Linked DNA regions of Homo sapiens: region 1 is linked to region 2. Evidence: promoter capture Hi-C in 16 types of primary human blood cells and fetal thymus (Javierre and others, 2016). All regions are on one chromosome and are shown on one strand. The core of a region is centred on a gene start or on the middle of the fragment in contact, and the rest is flanking DNA. Distances in the headings are between cores, read along the strand shown.

Region 1 (4,238 bases), core at 1,706-4,205, 330 kb after region 2:
ACATTGCAATCCTTCCTCAGCAGTATCCTATGGTGTGACTCAAAGAAACACAGCCCACAGTTGTGCTGGGGCTTAGAGTTTCGGCTGGGGCTTAGGGTGTCATTAAAGGAAACCCACCTCTAGGAGCTGACTGAGAGCTGCGATGGAGCTCAGCTCATTGAAGTCCATCAGAGACGAGGCTAAGGTCCGTAAAAAAGTCCCATCTGGAAAGTCAACGATCGGATTTAGTGTTTGGGTGTCTGGGATGAGGCAAATTTGTGGTGCCTGGATCCTCAGTGGATGAATTACCTTTGATCGTGCTTTGGAACAGCTGCGGGAAGATGCCGTTGGGGGCCAACTGATGGAAGATGCAGCGCAGGAACTGCTTGGCCACCCCCGCCGCATTGCCGGGAACCATCATGCTGGAGTTGAACAGGGGAGAAAAGACACGAAGTCATGGGCCAGTGAGCAGGTGTTCAGATATTTACTTAGAGTTCAGACATTTGCACACCATGCCTCTGATGGGATAGCTCACTGTCATGTTCATCAGTGAAATGAAATATTCTACTCAAACCTAATCCCTGTTAACAAGAAGTTTTTAGAAAGAGAGAACCATGAAATGCCAGTGTAGTCTCAGACGTATTCCAGGTCCCACAATGGACTCAGGAAGGTTATGAGATCCTGAGAGAAGAGGTCACATACAAAGGTCACATGCTCACAGAATGACAGTCAAGACTGGAGCCCTGGATGAGGATTACCAGGAAAATCCTCCCAGGAAAGTGTCACTGGCTAAGACAGAGTTGCTCTGAGGAAAAAAAAATTCATATATATATATATATATGCAGTGAGAGAGATGTTCATTCTCATTAGGAGATGTGGGAAGTTTTCTTTGGGCATCTGAGCTGACACTTGTAAAAAGGCTGGACTTTGACAGGTGCAATTTGACCTTCACCCTTCATGTGCACCTCTGCACATCAAAAGTAGGGCCAAATTTATGAGGCCCTGCCCCTTAGACTAAGGTACCAGAAAGGATGCTTCTTGATGTAGTTAGGGGGTAAGTTACCAGAAGGAAAAAAGAGAAAATCAAAGAACGTAAATAGATAAAGAGTAAGAAGTACTGCTTACCTAATTATGCCAATTATTACCTCATTGTGCCACATCTACCCTGAAATGCTGGTTCAAAGTTTTAGGTCAAAAATATTCTTCAGGAAAAAATAACGCCGAACTTACAATAACTTCAGAAAATAGAGAAGGAGAGAACCCTTCCCAATTTGTTTGATGCAGGCAGCATAGCCCTAAAACTAAAATTAATAAAGCCATTATCAAAATAAATTTTAAAAAAGAAGGAAACAGAAAAGAAATGGGAAGAGGACAGACAGACCCATAGTCGTCATGGCCACTGAATCCAGCTATAGATTAAAAGACCAAGTAGGGTCATGACCAAGTAGAGTTTATTCCAAGAGAATAACAATAGTTTAATACTCAAAAATCAGCCAGTATAATTCAATATATTAAGAAATAACGGACAAAAAGCTTATATCTCAATAGATGCAGAAAATACATCTCACAAAAGTCAACACACATCATGACAAAAACTCAGACTGGGCCAGGCACAGTGACTATCGCCTGTAATCCCAGCATTTTGGGAGGCCAAGGCAGGAAGACTGCATGAGCCTAAGAGTTGGAGACCAGCCTGGGAAACAGGGCAAACCCCCCTCATTTCTACAAAAAATACAAAAAACTAGCTGGGCATGGTGGCACACACCTGTAGTCCCAGCTACTCAGGAGGCTGAGGTGGGAGGATCACTTGAGCCAGGGAGGTTGAGACTGACAAGATGGTGCCACTGCACTCCAGCCTGGGTGATAGAGCAAGACCCTGCCTCAACAACAGCAACAGCAACAACAACAAAAACCCTCAAACTGGAAATACCTCAATTTGCTAAAGGGCATCTATAAAAAAACCTATAGCTACTGCGATTAATAGTAAATATTGAATACTTTCCCTGTAAGAGAGGAAACAAGAAAAGGGTGCCGACTCTCCCATCTCTATGATTACACTGGCAGTCTGAGCCATTGCAATAAGGCAATAAAAAGAAACAAAAGGCGGGGTGCGGTGGCTCACGCCTGTAATCCCAGCACTTTGGGAGGCCGAGGTGGGTGGATCACCTGAGGTCAGGAGTTCCAGACCAGCCTGACCAACATAGAGAAACCATGGCCTCTAGTAAAAAAAAAAAAAAAAAAAAAAAAAAAATACAAAATTAGCCAGGTATGGTGGTGCATGCTATAATCCCAGCTACTTGGGAGCCTGAGGCAGGAGAATCCTTTAAACCCAGGAGGCAGAGGTTGCTGTGAGCCGAGATTGCACCACTGCATTCCAGCCTGGGCAACAAGAGCGAAACTCTGTTTCAAAAAAAACAAAAGAAACAAAAGGCATAAAGATCAGAAAGGAAGTAGTAAAACTCTTGCTATTTACAGATGATTTTTCCATACAAAATCAAATCCTAAAGAGATCTACAAAGCAACTACTAGAACTAATAAGTGAATTTAGCTAGAATACATGCTAATATGCAAAAATCAATTGTTATTTAGATATCAGCAACAAAAAGTTGAAATTTTTAAAAATTCCATTTACATTAGTATAAAAAACATAAAATTCTTGAGAATAAATTTAACAAAAATGGCAAGACCTCTACACTGAAAACTAAAAAACATTGCTGAGAGAAATTAAAGATCTCATGAAAATGAGATATATACCATGTTCATGAATTGGAAGATTCAATATTTTCATGCTGTCAGTTACCCCCAAATTGATTTGTTCTTTCAATACAAGCCCAGCAGACTTTTTTGATAAGAATGACAAGCTTATTCCAAAATTTATATGAAAATGTAAAGAATGTAGAGATCCAAACCAATCTTGAAAAAGATAACTAAATTTGGAGGACTAATGCTACCTGACTTTAACACTTACTACTTACTATGAAGGTACTATAATCAAGACAGTGTGGTGCAAACTTAAGAATTAATATATAGATCAATGGAACAGAATAGAGAGCCCAGAAATAGATCCACCCTTCCATGGTTTCTAAGCTTAACAGGCACCACAGTGATCCAATAAGAAAAGAAAATATCTTTTTTAACTGTGCTGAAAAACTGAATATCCACATAGATAAAAATGAACTCCTACTGCTGCCTCACACCATACATAAAAATTAATTTGAGATGGGTTTTATAAATGCCAAATATACATATGAAAACCATAAAGCCTTTATAAGAAAACATTAGAGAATATCTGCATGACTTGGAAGTAAACAAAGGTTTCTTAGACAAATAAAAAGAAGCAATAATTGTAATGTTTTGTTTTAATGCATTAGAATTCACCTAAATTAAACATTTCTCAGCAAAAGATACCACTAAGAAAAGAAATAGGCATGCCCCAGACTGGGTGAAAATATTCTCAAAACATACTTAACAAAGGACTAGTATTCAGTATATATAAAGTCTTACAACTCAGCAATAAAAAGACAACAACCCAATTAAAATATTCAAAAGATTTGACCAGACACTTCTCAAAAGAATATACGCAATGGGTCAATGAGCACTTGAAAAAATGTCATAGAGAAATGCAAGTTAAAACTATAATGAAATACCCATTACACATCCACCAGAATGACCAAAATTAAAAAGACCAACAATGCCAAAGTTGGGCAAGAATATGAAACAACCAGAATACATTGATGATTGGTAATATAAAGTGGCATAACCACTTTAAGAGAAGTTCCAGTAGTTTCTGATAAAATTAAACATATACCTATCCTGTAACCCAACAATATCATCCCTAGGTATTTTACCCAAGAGAAATAAAAACACTTGTTTTAAAAAGGGCTTTTATAAGAATGTTCACAATAGATCTATTTTTTTATACCCCCCAACTGAAAAAACCTAGAAGTCCTTCAATAAGAAAATAAAAAAGCAAATTATGGGATACAATTCAGCCTTGAAAAAGAAACAAACTCCTGATAAAAAAGCAGCAACATGGATAAATCTCAAAAACATCATGCTGAGTAACAGAAGTTGGACACAAAAGAGTGCATACAGTAGGATTCCATTGACATGAAGTCTAGAATGGGCAAAATCAACCCATGTGGAAAAATATCACAACAGTGTTTGCCTCTATGGGGGTAGAGATTAGCTGGAAACGTGCACGAGAGAACTTTCTGGGAATAATGGTAATGTTCTCTATCTTTACAGGGGTTTGGGTT
Region 2 (3,932 bases), core at 1,358-3,857:
TTGTGGGTATACTGAACTTTAATAAAAAGTTTTTAAAAATCAGTCCTGTTTGGGCCTCGACACAGATTATTTAAATCAGAATCTCTGGGGTGGGGCAGGCATAGGTAAGTGTAATATGATTCTAATGAGCAGCTAGGGCCAGATCCCAGCACAGTTCTCTTTCCTCTGGGTCACACTGCCTGCCCTCCACAGGCTCGAGTCAGATGCTTGAACGCTGTCCCTGCCTTTGTCAGGAGAGTGTCTGTGCTTTAGGACATCAGCGTCTGATCCCATGGGGCATGGTTCCCACTGGCATGGCTTTCAATGTGTGAATTATTCTGCCCCCAAATTGCCAGGTGATCTCAGAGAAGGCACAGAACCTCTTGGGGCCTGAACTAGTAAATGAGGGCTCTGAACACCAGGATAGCCAAGAGTCCCTCCAGTTAGAGGGACCACAATTCCCCTGTAAGACAGAATCTCAGCCAAAAGGAGCTTCTGGTCTGATAAACCCAAGAACTGGGAAATGACTTGGGACTACATTCTTTTGTAAAGAGTGAGGTAAAAAAAAATTTAGTTTGAATCTGTTTTTCTTCTTTTAAATGGAAACAAAGACAAGTGGAAAGTCAGAAAAAAGTTCACGGGTAGCACACGAGAGCTGAGGAGCATGCAGCTGAGACCGCAGTGAATATTTGGTGAGTGTCTGGGTTGATTATTACTACATATCAAACTACCTCAATCCCCAGTGGCACGAAACAATCCTTTTATCATAGCTTGTGGTTTATGGGTCAGGAAGTTGTGGGTGGTTTGTCTCTGCTCCACGTGGCATTAGCTGTGGCAGCTGCAGGTGAAGGATCCACCTCCGAGAGGGTGTCTTCACCCCTCTGCCTGGTGCTAGATGCTCTGGGGGCCCTGGGTGTTGCTTGCTTGGACTTCCTCACAACATGGCAGCTACAAAGCATCTCATGACCTAGCCTTGGAAGTCTCAGGACATCATTTCCACTGCATTCTATTGTTAAGTCCATCACTAGGCCACCCCATATTCAAGGGGAGGGAAGGAATAGACACATCTTGGATGGAGTTTGGGGTGTGTATGTGTGTGTGTGTGTGTGCATGTGTGCATGCCCATGAGGCAGAGGGCAACCTAGGAGGGGCCTGGCCTGGCCACAGCCCACCTTCCAGGTCAGATTGGGAAGGGGCAGGTGGTGGGCAGGAAGTAGAGGAACCTGTGTTTTGCCTCCAGCAAGGAGCCCAGGAAAGCAGCCCGGCCTCGGGGAGCCGTCCCACAGAGACGTCTCTCGGGGAACATCCTACTGGGTAGCAGAGTCTCCAAAAAGTAAAAAGAATCTGACAGCCCCTTCTCTGCCCTTCTCCTACACTCCCTCCATAGCACATGGGTCTGGAAGGGGCTGAACTTGAGCTAACTTTGAGGGCCACCCAGCCACAGTGGCCTGGGAAGACTGACCCAGCTGGGGTGATGAGCAATTTGGCAGGTACCAGGGAAGCTGGGGGACTGCCTGGGGACCACTGGTGTCCTTCCCATCTTTAGCACCAGTCAGACCTCCAGAACCTTGACTCAACCCCGTGGCACCTTGTATACTGAGATGTATTTCCTTGTGGAATATTCGAAGTGCGTGTAAAGGCATCCTGAGGTTTCCTGAGTTTGAATCAGTGAGAAATCATGCTGTGGCCATCATAAATCCACATCCTCCAAGGGGAATGGGCCACTGAAACAAAAATGATTCTCCCCTTAGAGGAACAGACCAAGTCATGTTTCTGGACCCCTAACTCTGAGGCATGAGATGTGAACACACGGGTGGGAGAGTAGGTGCCTGGCCATGTCCTGTCACATCCCGGATGCTCAGTGCATGTGGCTGTGTATGTGTTGTCTTTGACATTTGACCTATTCCAGAAATGGGACGTTCTTCCCTAGACCAGGAGGAAGGGCTCTCTTCTGTTGTATATCTCTGCCCAGGGCTTGCCCGCATGCCTCTGTGTTTGTTTGTTGGCTCATTTGTACCCTGGCCCTTTGTATCCCCAGCCCCACCCCACAGTATCCAGCAGCCAGACACCTGCTATCCCCAAATGCTGCCACAAGCTCAGCACCAAACCTTGATTTCTCCAAAGCCCTTTTACGTCAACTCCTTCATCTCCTCTCTCCCCTTCTTCCCTTCTCTTTCACTCCATCCTCTTCCTTCCTGCTGTCTTGCCTTCCCTCCTTTGTTGCCTTTACTTCTCCTCTTCCCCTTTCTTCCTCCTCCCTTGCTCCTCACTCTTTGTCTCCCAACTATGCGTCTCCTCGTCCTCGTTCCCTGCCTCTGTCTCTGACCCACTGCATCTCTCTCCTGTCTGGCTCTCCCCTGGGTAGTTCCAGAAACATACCCATATATGGCCTCCATGTCAAGGATCACAAATGATGACATCACGTGAGGGCCAAAGCTCCGGGATCCTCTCTGAAGTGAGAGTCTGTATTCGATGCACCCGGAGGAACGGAAGGCAGGATTGCAGCTTCCTCAGTGCAACCTCCAAACAGGAAATCTGAGATGTATAACATCTTATAGTTTGGCTTGTCAACGTTGGTCATGCGGTGGCCCCAAAATAAACTCCCTGCTTCAAAGGACAGCGTTTCAGAACTGCCTGGCAGAGCAGCCAGAAGCTTGGGGCCAGGGCAGAAGGAAAACTCGGGGAGCATGTTCTGAATTAAGACACTTTCAAGAAAATCCTTTGTATTACCCCTGAATTGTACCCTTGTTTCAGAGCCTAACAGGTAATGCATGCTTTCAACTTTCTTATACAGATCTTGCAAAAGATTCTTTGGCTGGTGGGGATTTTCGGCTGCAGTACTTACTGGAAACCGCTTGTAGTCAAACTGTGATGTTGCTTTTCCCTCTCTCTCGTATTTTCTTGAGTTATACAGCACGCTGGTGACTTTCGTTTTGGATGCAATGAACAGAGACTCAGCAATTTGCATGTACTTACCCATTCTTCTGGAGGACTCTGGCTCAGAATATCACTCTGCTGTGCACTTCTAAAAATGGAAATGCAAAAGGACTTATCAATGATGCTATTGTTGGGTCTGTAGGTCTTGGGCGGTATCTGTGTCAGACAAGTGACTTTCAGAAATGCTTTCAGGCCAGGCGCACAGATAGAGGTTTTCATGAGTGGGAGTTAATTTAATGTAGCTGTTGCAGAGTGCCTAGGCATGCACGGTATTGTGGGAGACCATAGCAGCCAAGGTGCCATGTGCTCTGCTTTCAACTGTTTGGGGATTAGGAGAGGAAATGGAGGAATGTTATTTATGTGAGATCCAACAAAGCTGTGGAATGCAGGGATGCAAGAATACCATGCATGTGTGTGCACACGCATATGCATGACACATTTAAGGAGGCCATGGCCTTTGAAAGGATGGGTGGGATGCCTCAGGGTGGAAACAGAGACCTCCAGGTGGAGGAGCAGCTTGGGCAAAGGCAGGGAAGTCAAGGGACCTGGGGTGATGATGGAAAGTGAAATGTGGCTCTGGCAAAGGGTTCTGCATGTGAAAAATGGGGGTGAGGCTAGAAGGGGAGGCCAGAGGGAGAGGCACATCCTTCCAGGCCAAGCAAGAAGTTGGAACACTTTCTGAGAGTTTTTGAGCAGAGGACGGCATGCACATAGCCACATGCATTGAGCATCTGGGATATGAAGGGACACAGCCAGGCACCTACACTCCCACCCGTGTGTTCACATCTCAGGCCCCAGAGGTGGAGGCCCAGAAACATGACTTGGTTTCTGGTGCCTCTAGGTGGAGAATCATTTTCATTTCAGTGGCCCATTCCCCTTGGAGGATGTGAGATTTGGCTTCGGTGGCTCTTCGGGAAGCCAGGGGTATGCACTGGAATGAGGAGGCAAGGAGGCTGGTGACTCCTAGGGAGGGCAGGTAAATGAGGAAGGCCTGAAGCAGGGCAGAAGCTGAGCCC

What was found. Contacts are between HindIII fragments. The CHiCAGO score rates a contact against its expected background, and 5 or more counts as called.
Region 1: a contact is called between a fragment that was not itself captured here and the fragment with the promoter of ASB2 in region 2, in 2 of 17 cell types (endothelial precursors and M2 macrophages). The highest score is 5.9, in endothelial precursors.

The regions. Positions count from the first base shown.
Region 1 is chr14:93,649,905-93,654,142 of GRCh38, reverse strand. It overlaps UNC79 (unc-79 subunit of NALCN channel complex), which reads right to left. Exons shown (of 52, transcript NM_001395159.1): 39 at 289-401; 40 at 118-203. Among named protein-coding and RNA genes, the nearest start is that of PRIMA1, 140 kb to the left of the region's middle. The HindIII fragment of the contact is 226 bases long and covers 2,843-3,068 here.
Region 2 is chr14:93,975,245-93,979,176 of GRCh38, reverse strand. ASB2 (ankyrin repeat and SOCS box containing 2) reads left to right here and starts at 2,607. Exons shown (of 10, transcript NM_001202429.2): 1 at 2,607-2,743. LOC107984663 (a long non-coding RNA gene) reads left to right here. Exons shown (of 4, transcript XR_001750861.2): 4 at 1-1,752. RefSeq lists an enhancer at 3,555-3,932. The HindIII fragment of the contact is 23,075 bases long and covers 1-2,634 here.